3 separate regions of the Homo sapiens genome follow, and regions 2 and 3 are each linked to region 1. Evidence: promoter capture Hi-C in 16 types of primary human blood cells and fetal thymus (Javierre and others, 2016). All regions are on one chromosome and are shown on one strand. Each heading gives the region's core, a stretch centred on a gene start or on the middle of the fragment in contact. The rest is flanking DNA. Distances are from core to core; before and after follow the strand shown.

Region 1 (4,769 bases), core at 1,677-4,176:
TGTTCATGTATACTGATTACATTTCTGTATCTTGATGTTTTTCACTTAGTATTTGTATCAGCTAAATTTTAGTACTTTGTTGTACTTATTGTCAATATCCTTTTTATGATGAGAGAATTTTTCACAGCTAGAGCCAATGTTTCGATGAGCATTTTGACAAGAAAGACAGAAATGCCCCATTTAACAAATTTTGACATGAAGTTGCTCTGCAGTAGTTCATAGAACTTCTCAAACCTTCCCCTAATAACTTTATGCCAAGCACAAACTTTCTTTGATATCTGTTTTACCTAAATATGTGACTTAAAAAATTACCACAGAAATACGTGTTTATTTTAAAAAGAACCAGTACCAAAGATGAAAAAGTAAAACTTGAATCCCCCATCACATGCCCTGCATTTTCACTGCCCTTAGTTTGTTGTTTATTCTTCCAGACTTTTCTGGCACAAACACATAGATACAGCTTTGGTAGTCATGCAAATAGGGCTACTTGCTTTCTTCATCTAACTTATTCTGTTAACACTTATAGATCAACCTTGTTTGGTAATAGGTTCAGCATTATTCTATGCTGTGGAGTGTCATAATTTATTAAACCAACTTCCGTGTTTGGATACATAGGGTATATCCAGTTTTTACTTTTAAAATACTGCTTCATTAACTCAATTAAAAATGGACAAAAGGACCTTCATACATTGCTGGTGGGAAGGTAAAGTGGGGTAGCCGTTTTCCAATGGTGCAGCTGTGGAAAACGGTTTGGCAGTTATTCAAAACTTAAATATACAGCTGTTACCATAAGACCCCGCAATCCTACTTCTAGATATATACCCAGGATACTTGAAAATGTATGTTCACTGGCTGGGCGTGGTGGCTCATGCCTGTAATCCCAGTACTTTGGAAGGCCCAGGCGGGTAGATCACCTGAGGTCAGCCTGGGCAACATGGTGAAACCCCATATCTACTATACAAAAATTAGCCAGGCGTGGTGGCAGGTGCCTGTAATCCCAGCTACTTGGGAGGCTGAGACATGAGAACTGCTTGAACTTGGGGGATGGAGGTTGCAGTGAGCCAAGATCGCGCCACTGAAATCCAGCCTGGGCAATGCAGTGAGACTCCGTCTCAGAACAAAAAAAAAGAAAATATATGTTCACATAAAAATGTACATACTAATTTTCATGGCAGCATTATTAGCCAAAAGTGAAAGCAACCCAAGTGTCCACCAACCGACAAATGAAAAACAAAATGTCTATCCCTCCAGTAGACTGCTATTCAGCAATAAAAAAGAATGACGTTCTGACACATGCTACAACATGGTCAAACCTTAAAAACGCTATCCTATGACAGAAGCCAGACACAAAAGGCCACATATTGTATGATTTATTTATATGAAGTGTACAGGATCAGCAAATCCATAGAGACATGAAGCAGATGAGTAGTTGCGAGGTGGAGGGAAGAGAGAATAAGGGGGAAGGAGGGAGCTGAGAGTGAGTGGCTGCTTAAGGGGTATGGGATTTCTTTTTCGGGGTGATGAAAATACTCTGGAGTCAGTGGCAATGGTTGCAAATCCTTGTAAATAAACTTAAAAAACACTGAAATATATGTTTTAAAATGATGGGTTTTAAAACATGAAACAAAACGTGGACATCATATCTCAATAAATTTTTTTTTTTTTTTTTTTAGACAGAGTCTTGCTCTGTCGCCCAGGTTGGAGTGCAGTGGCGCAATCTCGGCTCACTGTAAGCTCCGCCTCCCAGGTTCATGCCATTCTCCTGCCTCAGCCTCCCAAATATCTGGGAATACAGGCGCCCGCCACCTCACCCGGCTAATTTCTTGTATTTTTAGTAGAGATGGGGTTTCACCGTGTTAACCAGGATGCTCTCAATCTCCTGACCTCATGATCTGCCCGCCTCAGCCTCCCAAAGTGCTGGGATTACAGGCATGAGCCACCGCGCCCAGCCCAAAGATTATTTTTAAAATGGACAAAAGGCTTGTGTAGTCACTTCACAAATGAGGATACTTATATGGTCAATAAACATATAAAAAGGTGCTCATTATCATTAGTCATCATAGAAATACAAAGTAAAACTACGATGTGATACAACTACTTAGCCATCAGAAAACCTAAAAAGCCTGACAACACAAAGTGTGGGCAAGGATGCAGAGACTGGAACTGCCTTTCTCTGCTAGTGGGAGTATAAGTCGGTATAACCACTGTAGAAAACTGGTTGGTAGGAGCTACTAAAGTGAAACGGATATAGTCTATGACCAGGCAATTCTACTCGTGCATACATACACCACAGAAAATAATGCTTATTTCCTTAAAAAAAAAAAAAAAAAAAAAAAAAAAAAAAAAAAAAAAACATAAATGTCATAGCAGCTATTCATAGAAGGCCTAAACTTGAAAGACCCAAATGTTCACCAGTCACAGACGAAACTGTGAAATGAGCATAGAATAAAAAATAACTGATACACACAATGTGGATGTATCTCAGACTTACAACTAAAAACCTCTTTCTAACCCCATAAGCTGTACTCAGAGGCTTATGTTGCCATGTGTCACCTGGATCAAATTTTAAAACTGACTTAGTGATTTTAAGTATGCTTAATCTCTTTCCTGATGCCAATATTAATGTAAAAAATATTGAAATATTTCAATTTGAAATATTTGAAATTTACTATTTCAAAATAAATTCATGTGTATTGTAGAAAAATTAGATTCTACGGATTAACAACAACAAAACCCCTCACCCATGCTCCCACCGCACAGAAAGACCTGCTAACACTGTGCCCTGTACTCATCTGGATGCTTTTCTGAGCATTTCAAAAGCTGGAGTATTTTAACCGAATGTCAGCATGCACATACCTTCCAGAGTCAGCACTGGGAGCCACAGAGCAGATGGTGAGAGGTGAGGACCAGCGCGCAGCTTGAGGTGTGAAGCACGTCTCCCACTGGCTAATCTCCTTATCTTCTCTGGAGTGCTGCTCAGCTTGCTTCCTTCCTCCACAGCACTTCCATGCTCCCTGCTGGGCACGCACTGCCATCTGCATCCCTCACTCACCCCTGGAACCTGCCCAGCCCCTCTGTGGAGGGAGGCCTTGGCAGGTTTGACCTCTGTGTCTGCGCCCACTCACTGAGCAGCCCTCACATTCACCTGGGCCACATGTTCTTAACATTTCTCTATTTTGGTCTCCTTGCCACTGTCAGCTTTGTAGAACTGATCAAGACTGTGGGATGAGTGCCTCCCTTTCCCCATTTTTCCACACATAAACTCCTCAGCCTCCACAGGTCTCCCTGTCCCCAAACATGACCTACTTTTTCCCATGGTTGACTCCCCACCACACACACACAGTCCTCCAACGGGACTTTGCTCCTTCAGTTCTCTTCCCACCTCATCAGCAGTAGGATGAAGGCAGGGATGAGGAGGATGTGGCACCTGCCCTCTGGGGCTCACAGGCCTACAGAGGAAATGGGCAGCATTTCTGGCTTCCAGTCCAGGGTAAGTGCTATAAAACAGGCATAAATCCTGAGTTATGGAAGCCGAAAACCAACAGTGATGGCTCCTCATGGTGTGGGGAAGGTCTAGAAAGGGCATGGAGGCCGCAGCTCAGGATCAGAAACCCTGCCAATTCTCTGCCAAGTAGCCCCTCATTCTGACAGTGTGGAAGCGCCCTGGAGACACAGCCTAAGCCAGCACTTATGACATATTTACTTCTTCTCTAAACATTTTAATATACTTTAAATGAGATATTATGAATCTATAAAGATTCTAGCATCTTTCAGTATGACCGTAAAGAAAGGCATACAACTTGTACACTTAAGAGACATGTCATCTCCTCGCAATGAAAGAATCTGACCCAATTCATTTGGTAATTAATTTTATTGATTAAAGTATTACAAAGTTCTACTTTTCATTTTTTCATGTACAATGTATTGAAATGAACTAAACTCAATCACTTATAATATAAAAAGACATTATTATGTATTAGCAGGGTGATGCTTCATAATCATGTATTATTCCTACCTCTAAGACACCAGTCTGTATTATAGAATCACAGCTGTCACCTGTGACTGTCAGAAACAGAAGGTGCAATTGGGATTCTTAGGTTGGTGACAGAATAGCACTGGATCCACAGGCCAGAGACTAGGAGTGCTTATCAAATGAGGTTTTAGGCTCTGAAAGGAAGGAATGAGAAGGTGTGCCGGGACAAGGAATAGCCAGTTCCCATAAAACTTGGGAAACGTAGATTTCTCAAAAGTAGGGTCCGACACAATTTTTTAGTTACTTTTTGAGAAAATTTAAAAATAAATACATTGAAATGCTGATTAGAGAGCGAAAGTAATTTAGGTTGCTTTTTCAATCTGAGGTTGTTTTAAAAAAGTTATTGTATGAAAGGTATTAAAAAATAAAAAAATTATGGTGAATATGTTGGCAGGTAAGATTTGAAGTTCTTTCAGAGAAGATAAACGGCATGGCAATTAAGCTTTAATAATATATTAGTTTTAAATAGATATACATATAAAAATACTTCAAATGATTCATCTCGGATTGAACACTCTTAAAAATTAAAAGGGTCAGCCGGGCGCGGTGGCACACGCCTGTAATCCTAGCACTTTGGGAGGCTGAGGTGGGCGGATCACGAGGTCAAGAGATCGAGGCCATCCTGGCCAACATGGTGAAACCTGTCTCCACTAAAAATACAAAAATTAGCTGGGCGTGGTGGCAGGTGCCTGTAGTCCCAGCTACTCAGGAGGCTGAGGCAGGAGAATTGTTTGAA
Region 2 (4,769 bases), core at 1,498-3,997, 240 kb before region 1:
TTTTTTTTCTGAGACAGGGTCTTGCTTTGAGGCCCAGGCTGGAGTGCAGTGGCACAATCATGGCTCACTGCAGCCTTGACCTCCTGGGCTTAGGTGATCCTCCTGCCTCAGCCTCCCAAGTAGGTGGGACCACAGGTGTGCACTACCTACCCATGCCCAGCTGATTTTTTTTTTCTTTTTAGTGGAGATGAAGTCTTGCCATGTTGCCCAGGCTGGTCTTGAACTTCCTAAAATCAAGCGATCCTCCTTCTTCAGCCCCCTAAAGTGCTGGGATTATAGGCGTGAGCCACTGTGTCCAACTGTGAGTAACTTTCAAAGACAGTGACCTATTCATTCTTAAATGTTTTCTTCTGATAAATATCTTTAGTTCCCTCTGTATATTTCCTCCCAGGGGAACCAAATAATTTTAAAGTTTTTGATTTAAAGATAAGTATAAATTTTAGATATGCGGAAATGAAGCAGACTTACCCTCTCAAAATACAAAAACCTGACCACTTTTAAAGATGAAAAAGGTTTGTGTGCAAGGTGTCTAAAGAGGCAAGATACCCTACTCTTACGAAGTCAACTATTAAAGCCTGAGACATTCTTCCACCAGTAACAGTTAATTCCAAAATGAGTTTGAAGGTAAAGCAAGAAAGTGGTTTCCTGGTCCTGTAAAGACCGTTTGTTGCCAGGCAGACCTTTCAAAGAGAGATGTAGAGGGGCGCCCATCTGCTCCACTGCCCAAGCCCAGGTGAACCTCTGGGTGGAATAAGAGCCGAGGACTTTAGACCAAGCCCCTCCCGTCAAAACCCAAAGCCTTCCCTTTGTCCCCACACCTTGCCTATCTGATTACTGTATGGAACTGAGCACTACTAGACTCATGTGCTAGATTTTTAATCTCTGGTGACCTGAATGTTACACACCTCTCTCTCTTAAAGCATCCTTGGATTTTTAAAATTTTTATTTAATTTTTGTGTGGTTTATTTCCACACAATTGAATCTTTTTCTATGGGAAATCAGCATTGACAAAAAAGAAAGGGTCTCTGTACTGTGGTCCCCAAATAAATAATAGGTAGGTAATATGTAACAGGTCACCAGACCAAATGCAGTCACTATAAGAAAAGGAGAAATGAGTTTCATGGGACAGTCAGAGAAAAATAAATTTGGGTGTTTTAAAAATTTACTTGTTATATGCCAGGCTCTGGGCTAAGTACTTTAAATGTATTATATTATGTAATCTTCAAAACAACCTTATGTTCTAACTACCATTATTAATAGGTTGTTTTTGTCACAATGAGGTAACAGAAGTTAAGGGAAACTATGTAACTCTTCAAAAGTTATACAACTAAAAAGTGGCAGGACTCAGATGAGAGCGGGCAGGGTCAGAAGGCCAGCCAGGTCTTCTTAGTTCGCTTTTCACCATGTCGTCTTGCTACTGGCTTGGGGGAACCCCTGGGTAAGAACCAGGTGGATGCAGAGTCACGGCTGGGACAGATGTCTCGGAAGTCAGATGACTTTGGTTTAAGAACTGACCAGTTAGCAACTACGTGCCTTTGGGCAAATTAGTCAACCTCTCAAAGTCTCAGTTTCCTCAATAAAAACAAGGAAATAAGAGCAACTAGATCATAATGTTGTTATGAGGATCAAACAGGATGCATGTCAAGTGTTGAGCATTTGCCTGAAATTCAGTATGTGTGGAAAAAACGTTAACCATCAGAAATCAGTGATACTTGTGAAAGGAGGAAATATGCAAAAGTAAATCTAAGAGAAATGTAGAAGAAGAATGAAAGAAAATATCACATAATTTCTGAATAGTTTAATTTCTTGATTCCCAATTAGGTAATAAAAAAGGTTGACAAAAGTTCCAGTATAACTGGCAAATTCTCAAGTCAGAAAGCAAAAGCTCAAGGGATAAAACCCAAAGTAGGAACAACAGCAGTTCCTACCTTTCAAGCTCACCTGAATGAACTAGGTCACTCATGACAACTCGTTCTTTAAAAATAAAATGTCCGGGCTAGGCACAGTGGCTCATGCCTGTAATCCCAGTACTTTGGGAGGCCAAGGCGGGCAGATCACTTGAGGTCAGGAGTTTGAGACCAGCCTGGCCAACATGGTGAAACCCCGTCTCTACTAAAAATACAAAAATTAGCCAGGTGTGGTGGCGCACACCTGTAATCCCAGCTACTCGGGAGGCTGAGGCAGGAGAATCACTTGAACCCAGGAGGCAGAGGTTGCAGTGAGCCGAGATCACACCACTGCACTCCAGCCTGGGTGACAGAGCGAGACTCCGTCTCAAAAAAAAAAAAAAAAAGTCCAGTGACTTGGCAGCCGGATTACATCTAATGCCAAGATGAAGTCCAGAATCCCGAAATGATGAAATGTAATTTCCATACACGACTCACCTCGAATGCCCCCTTTATATCGGTTTTTAATGGCAGCCAAGCTGATGGACTCCTCGCCTTCCTCCTCCTCATCGTATCGATCAGGTTCCAGGTAACTGGCGCTCAGCCCCCGCTGGTGCTGTTTCTCTCTCATTCGGCGCTGCTGAGATTCCCTACGTATGGAAGCCCTCAAACGTTCTTCTTCTTTCTGTAAAGAAGCAAATAACCTCTTTAACCTAAAAAGGAGCTACTTTTGTGCCCACTTGAACCCACTTTTATTACAAATAGCATGTAATGTCTGGTCCAGATAACAGCTGTGCCGTGTGTGTTCCCCATCCCACCTCTGTGGCTCCACAGGGACCCTCTGGTTTGGTTTGCAGGAGCAAAGGCAACACAAGGGTAAAGCGGCAGAAGGGAGCCCTGACACTAACCGGCCCAACTGGCATTGGCACAGGTGTGTCCTCGGGAGCTGTGCTGGTGTTCTGTGCTGCCACTTAACCCAGAGAGAAGCAACCCGCCTGAGAAACCCCATTCATGCCCAGCAGAAACCTAAATTGACTCCCTGGAGCAGCAGTGGCTGTTCCTGTTCATCCCTGAACCACAGACAACTGATCTGCCCCAGCTCTACCAAACTCCCATAGTTCCCAGATATTCTGGTCCCAGCCCCTCAGCCCCTCAACCCAGAGAGCTCCTCACGGCTCCTGATGACAGGTTGGGGAGCGTCCTAGAGCCACAAGGTAGACCTTTCATTTCCTTTGCACTGCCTGGCATTCTGCACCTTGATGTTAAACCAGGTTGGGGGTAGGGGTGGTGTTGGAGTAGGTTTCAGGGATATTCTGGGATTTCTTTGAAGGTCTTCCTCATCCCGTTGCTCTGTATTATCATATACAACTCCAATTATATTGCTAGAAATTCTATGGAACAGATTGTTTTAATAGTATGTGGCTGTACGGAGGTTAGAGTAAAAATCACTGTCAGTAGTACAGGGACTAAGAACAAACCAGCTGACTCCTAGTCTACATTTTCACAGGAGCTGGGGACATGGAGGAGGGTGTGGGGAGATGCTCAAAGTGGTTCAAGAGCTTCTCCAATAATGCTGAGACTGGAATCTGCAGGTTCCTCCAGTTCCCTTAGTCTGTACAGAAAAGGTGGGGAAATGGAACAAGCCCAGCTCCAAAGCAAATGCCGCTATATACCACTAGGTTAGGTACTGCTATTAGATCTGGTTTAATCTGTCTCCATGAACAAATACAGGATGGAGGAAAAAGCAAGGGCTCAGAGCCAAACCTTCAGCAGAGCCTGACCATAAGATTTGTAAGAAAGGCCCTGAGGTAACTGGACTGTCTTAGCCTCACCATGCCCTGCTTCACTAAACAACGTAATCACAAGAGGCAGGGTGGGCAAAGGCCAAAATCTAGTAGGGATTAGAGAAGATGGAGAGGAGAAATGATGAGCCTGTACTACTGCATATGGCTTCTCAAATCAAGTGCTGCAGGAAAGGCCAATAGCCAATATGAGCACATGCTCTATCGATTAGGTACAATGCCCCAAATAAACTTGTGCCTAATTAACAGCTGGGTCAAATTTGAAAATATACCAGGTAGAATGTTACAAATTGACCTTAAAAACTCATAAGCTCGTCTTATTCTTTACCAGAGTCTACTTTAGGCACTCTCTCATTCAAACTCCTGGTCTATTCTCTATTTTACACTACTCTCTAGTATCTCCACTGACTTCTGACATGGATTCTAAACCACACATAGATGACTTAATGATCTTTGAACTTATACATGAAAATTCAGATATTTCAATCACCGGTTTGTTGCTGAACTCTCAGGGCCTGGTGAAGAGAGAACCTGAGCCCTGTTTCTGTTTTACTATCATTGCCACGTCACCAATTGTTTGGCAAATGCTGAGGAAATGAATCCAGCTCCCTATTCATGTCAGTTGGAAGAGGAAAAGGTAGGCCAATAAGAGATGACGAACAAGCATTTTGGGAAATACTTGCCTAATATACCAAAGAATCCCAGGATAACGCTTAGGCTTAGCAAACATACCTTAATCATTTCTGTGCGTTGGCATTCAGGATCACGACCAGCCATTGGCAAGATTCTAATCTTCTGTGTCTTTGAACACCTATCTGCAAGTGACAGAGTCATCTTTCTATGTGTGGCACTGTCCGTAGAGTGAGGTCTGCCAGGAAATAAACGAAGAGCATATCACTGTTTACCAAATACATTTGTGAGCCAGTGATACCCACGTCACAGAAGTAAGAGCCCAGTGACCATTTCCTAGTCACCTGAAAAAATAGGCAGAGACACTCGACTGAATATACCAAGGTGGAAGATTGTGAGTTTTCTTCATTCTGTGGCTCACTGAGACATTCTTATTCCACAAATGAAAAAC
Region 3 (4,769 bases), core at 725-3,224, 190 kb before region 1:
CCTACCAGCACCTTGAGCTTGGACTTCTCAGCCTCCAGAACTGCAAGAAAAAAAGTTTCTGTTCTTTATAAATTACCCAGTCTCAAGTATTTTGTTATAGCACACAAGCAAATTAAGACACCCATAGATATACATGTTTATTTCTAGACTCTCAATTCTACTCTATTGGTCTGTAGGTCTATCCTTTTGCTAGTACCACACTTTTCATTACCATAGTTTTGTAGTAAGTTTCAAAACTGGGAATTGAATGGTATACCTTTGTCCTTTTCCTTTCTTTTTTTTTTTTTTTTTCAGATGGAGTCCCACTCTGTCACCCAGTCTGGGGTGCAGTGGTACAATCTCGGCTCACTGCAACCTCCTCCTGCTGGGTTCAAGCGATTCTCCTGCCTCAGCCTCCTGAGTAGCTAGGACTACAGGCACGAGTCACCACACCTGGCTAATTTTTGTATTTTTAGTAGAGACAGGGTTTCACCATGTTGGCCAGGCTGGTCTCAAACTCCTGGCCTTAAATGATCTGCCCACCTCAGCCTCCCAAAGTGGTGGGATTATAGGCGTGATCCGCCACTCCTGGCCGCATGTAGCCCTTAATAGGGAAGAATGACTCAATTCTGTAGGCTCAGAGGGTCAAGAGGAATCTGGGAATTCAAGATTTTGGGGGGCATCAACCCAGATGTCCCTGTCCCATGTGTCAGAGTCTCACTCTTTCCCAACCAGAACCCTGACCTAATTTGGTTGGTAGTTTAATCTTCTTTGGAGTTTGGCTACACTGATGATTTAGTCTGGGTCTTGTCCTCAGCATTCTCTGCCTTCCCACCTTAGGTCACGAAAGTCTCTTTACATGCTACCAGAGACCCTCTGGCGAAAGCTTTCATTTGGCTCTAGTTGCCTGGTGTTTACTCTCTCGGCCTTTTGGTTTCTTTTCCTAGAGCTTCAACAGAGGTGAGCAATAACCATATAATCCCATTGTCCTTAGAATTACTATTTCTGCCATATATTGCTTGAGCTAATACATTCTCTTCCATTGGTATACAATCCCAGTTCACCACTAGTGAAAGTTTTAGTACCTGGCCGCCACCTTCTGCCAGGGGTTATCTGGGTTCCATCTATTACCAGTAACAGGTCCTCCCTACCAGCTAGGTGGATGAGTGACCCAGTTCCAAAACTCCATCTTATCTGTGCTTTCTCAGACCTCTCCTGGCTCTGACTGTGGTAGTTTGGGTTTTCCAGGAAGCAGATCCTGAGACGGACTTCAGTGTACAGGATATTTATTAGGGAGGGCCCTTGGGATCGACATCTGTGAATGGCAGGGAAAGGAAATAAGATTGGGCAGAGGGTGAAGTTGATCTGAGATGCAGGCTGATAGCCTCAGTTAACCCCACACAGGAATCTCTCCAGAGGAAGTGGATCATCAGAGTTGTTCTGACAGGGCAAAATAGCTAGGCCTTTTGTATTAGTGTTTTCACACTGCTATAAAGAAATACCTGAGACTGGGTAATGTATAAAGAAAAGAGGTTTAACTGACTCAACAGTTCCGCATGGCTGGGGAGGCCTCAGGAGACTTACAATCATGGCGGAAGAGGAAGCAAGCACATCTTAGGTGGCAGCAGGTGAGACAGAGAGAGAGAGTGTATGTGAAGGAGGAACTGTCAAACACTTATAAAACCATCAGATCACCGGGCGCGGTGGCTCATACCTGTAATCCCAGCACTTTGGGAGGCTGAGGTGGGCAGATCACAAGGTCAGGAGTTTGAGACCAACCTGACCAACATGGTGAAACCCCGTCTCTACTAAAAATATAATAATTAGCAGGGTATGGTGGTGCATGCCTGTAATCCCAGCTACTCAGGAGGCTGAGGCAGGAGAATTGCTTGAACTCAGGAGGCAGAGGTTGCAGTGAGCTGAGATTGCACCATTGCACTCCAGCCTGGGCAACAAGAGGGAAACTCCGTCTTAAAAAAAAAACCAAAAAACAAACAAAAAAAACACGATCAGATCTCGTGAGAACTCATTCACTATCACGAGAACAGCATGGGGGAAACCCGCCTCCATCATCCAATCACCTCCCACCAGCTCCCTCCCTCGACACATGGTGATTATGGGGATTACAATTTGAGATGAGATTTGGGTGGGGACACAGAGCCAAACCATATCACCTTTCTACTTCTGCCTTGATCAGTCATCAGATTTGGGCAACCCAGAAAAGGCACATCTTCTTGGGCAAGGTAGCTCTCTGCACATGAGGCAAACCCGGAAGGAAATGGTAGCTGACAGCTGTGTGCTGAGCACAGTCCCCACAGCAGGGCAGCAAGTCTTTCCTTGGAGGGGGATCTGGTCAAAGCATCTCAACATCCACCACAGGTATCATGTCAGCAATTGACTCTCAAATTGTTCAGGTAAAAATTCATTATGCTATGTGCGCAACTTTTCTGTTAGTTTGAAAAACTTTAAAAATAAAATGCTTTTAAAACAAATGGACAGACTTACACAAATTAAATGTGACTGAAAAAATGTCAAGAGCCTCCTGTTGCTGATGCAAAGAAAGGAGCATGATGTTGAAGAGATGAAAATTCATTTGAATGAGTAAAATAGGGATGGCCAGAAGAATTAGTGAGAGATAAGAGTGAAACAGTAAATTGAAGTTTCATCTTTGCTGATGCAATATAATTCCAAGACTTCAGAATAGGGCAAGAATGCAAAATGCTTATTGCCTCACATTTACACTGGCCTTTAATTTCACCTCACCTCTTCTGAGTAGGTGAAGTCTCTTCTAGACTACCTTTAGTAGCTCCTGTTCCCTATCTCCCTTTTCCTTTTGTTCCTTTCCTCCCCACGACCATCATGAAAATTGGTCTGTGGAGATGTGAGTCTTTACTAAGCGTCTCATACTGGGATGAAGATTATTTTTAGGATTAATCTGAGTCACAGAGGGAGGAGGGAAAGAACCATTTTAATCTTTTCCTTTTCACTCCTTCATAACCTGCTGTACAGCTAAATCATTTTACAAATACGTCTTTCCTCCTTTTCCCTAGGAATGCTTTGCCTTTTATCTTTCCTTTGGAAGCAGTATCCATAAGCCTTCATCAGAAGCTTCTAAAAGTGGAAGGGATTTTTCTTTGTTAGAAAGGACCACGGGCTAATTAAAGGAGATTGCTATAAGCTGCTTTCATGTAAGTAGATCCATTTATTATTATAGCGGTTGTTGGTATCTGAGGGGTTATATAGTTGCCCCTGTTTCCCTTTCTCACTGGCCCTCTCAGCTACACCCATGTCTTAGTCTGTTTTGTGCTTTTTATAACAGAATACCTGAGATTGAATAATTTATAAAGGAAAAAAATTTATTTGGCTCACAGTTGTGGAGGCTGGGAAGTCTAAGAGGGGACAGTATCTAATGAGGTCCTTCTTGCTGCATCATCTCATGGTAGAAGGCAGAAGGGCAAGAGTGATCTCAAGAGGGCAAGAACGATCTCCAGAGGGCAAGACATTGAACTTGAAGCTTCCAGCTTTATTATAATCAGCATGATTCAATTCATGAGAGTGGAGCCCCCATGACCTAAACACCTCCAATTAGGCCCCACCTCCCAACACTGCTGCATTGGGGATTAAGTTGCCAACATACGCTTTTTGGGGAACACGTTCAAACCATAGCAACCCCACTCTGGATTTTCCCTTCTGTCGCTCTGAGGCTGAGCGTGGAAGGGACTCCTGCTTTCTGTGGAGAGATGCAGGCAGAGACTGTGTTTGACCTTCTTCCTTTGCAGCAACATGCTTGAGCATGCCTCATGTTTCACTGTTGGACGACATTTCTTTGAGGGGTAAATAAGCATGTGAACGCTACACTTTAAAAAATATCTTTACCAATTTACACATTAAACACTGAGGAAACAAAGAAGAACAAACAAAACCCCCCAAATAAGTTACCCCAAAAGGTGGGAGAAAGTTCTATCTTGGATAAAATAGGCACTCAAAGGCTATCTGTTGAATGACTTGAATGAATGAAGAGAGATCTGGGCCAGGTGCGGTGGCTCATGCCTGTAATCCCAGCACTTTGGGAGGCTGAGGAGGGCAGATCACCTGAGGTCAGGAGTTCAAGACTATCCTGACCAACATGGCAAAACCCTGTCGCTACTAAAAAAGTACAAAACTTAGCCAGGCATGGTGGCGGGTGCCTGTAATCCCAGCTACTCAGGAGGCTGAGGCAGGAGAATTGCTTGAACTTGGGAGGTGGAGGTTGCAGTGAGCCAAGATCGCACCACTGCACTCCAGCCTGGGCAACAAGAGTGACATTCCATCTCAAAAAAAAAAAAGAGAGAGAGAGATCTGGCTTAACTTAGGTGAATGATAGTTTAAACAGGCAAGCTTCTGGCTGAAGATACTAACAGCACCCCTTATTTAGAGTAGGTTAGCATTTTAGGGGTGCTTCCACACACATTATCTCATGTATTCCTTGGACAGACCCCACCCTTCGAGGGAGGGGAGGTAGGTGCTATTTATACCATTTTAAAGTTGAGATTAAATGACTTGCCTGGAATCAAACAACTAAGTGGCAGAACTGGGGCTTACACCTAGGTCTGCTGACTACCGTTGGTGCCAAGACATCAGAGAGATTCTTCTGGTTTCACAGTGGAGCCCCCAAGGATTACTGCTGGGGGACTTGTCTTACTTAAAACTGTGATAGACTGTGTGGAAGCAGGCCCATGTAGGAAATGGCCTTAAGCTCTCCAGAGTAGTAACTACCAAGCAGATGGATCTAAATTGAAAAGATAAGCTTC

What was found. The method cuts DNA at HindIII sites, captures the fragments that hold promoters and counts their contacts. A CHiCAGO score of 5 or more calls a contact.
Region 2: a fragment that was not itself captured here is called in contact with the fragment with the promoter of GNB5 in region 1 in 1 of 17 cell types (M1 macrophages); the score reaches 6.7 in M1 macrophages.
Region 3: a fragment that was not itself captured here is called in contact with the fragment with the promoter of GNB5 in region 1 in 11 of 17 cell types (naive CD4 T cells, naive B cells, total CD8 T cells and 8 more); the score reaches 8.8 in naive CD4 T cells.

Annotation. Positions count from the first base shown.
Region 1 is chr15:52,188,466-52,193,234 of GRCh38, forward strand. GNB5 (G protein subunit beta 5) reads right to left here and starts at 2,927. Exons shown (of 13, transcript NM_016194.4): 1 at 2,857-2,927. MYO5C (myosin VC) reads right to left here. Exons shown (of 41, transcript NM_018728.4): 41 at 3,857-4,769. All of the region lies in intron 2 of CERNA1 (competing endogenous lncRNA 1 for miR-4707-5p and miR-4767), which reads left to right. RefSeq lists an enhancer at 3,025-3,524. The HindIII fragment of the contact is 7,593 bases long and covers 1-4,473 here.
Region 2 is chr15:51,947,424-51,952,192 of GRCh38, forward strand. It overlaps LEO1 (LEO1 component of Paf1/RNA polymerase II complex), which reads right to left. Exons shown (of 12, transcript NM_138792.4): 9 at 4,421-4,556; 10 at 2,385-2,571. Among named protein-coding and RNA genes, the nearest start is that of LEO1, 22 kb to the right of the region's middle. The HindIII fragment of the contact is 6,257 bases long and covers 1-4,769 here.
Region 3 is chr15:52,001,236-52,006,004 of GRCh38, forward strand. It overlaps a transcript of MAPK6 not described here. Among named protein-coding and RNA genes, the nearest start is that of MAPK6-DT, 15 kb to the right of the region's middle. The HindIII fragment of the contact is 2,222 bases long and covers 864-3,085 here.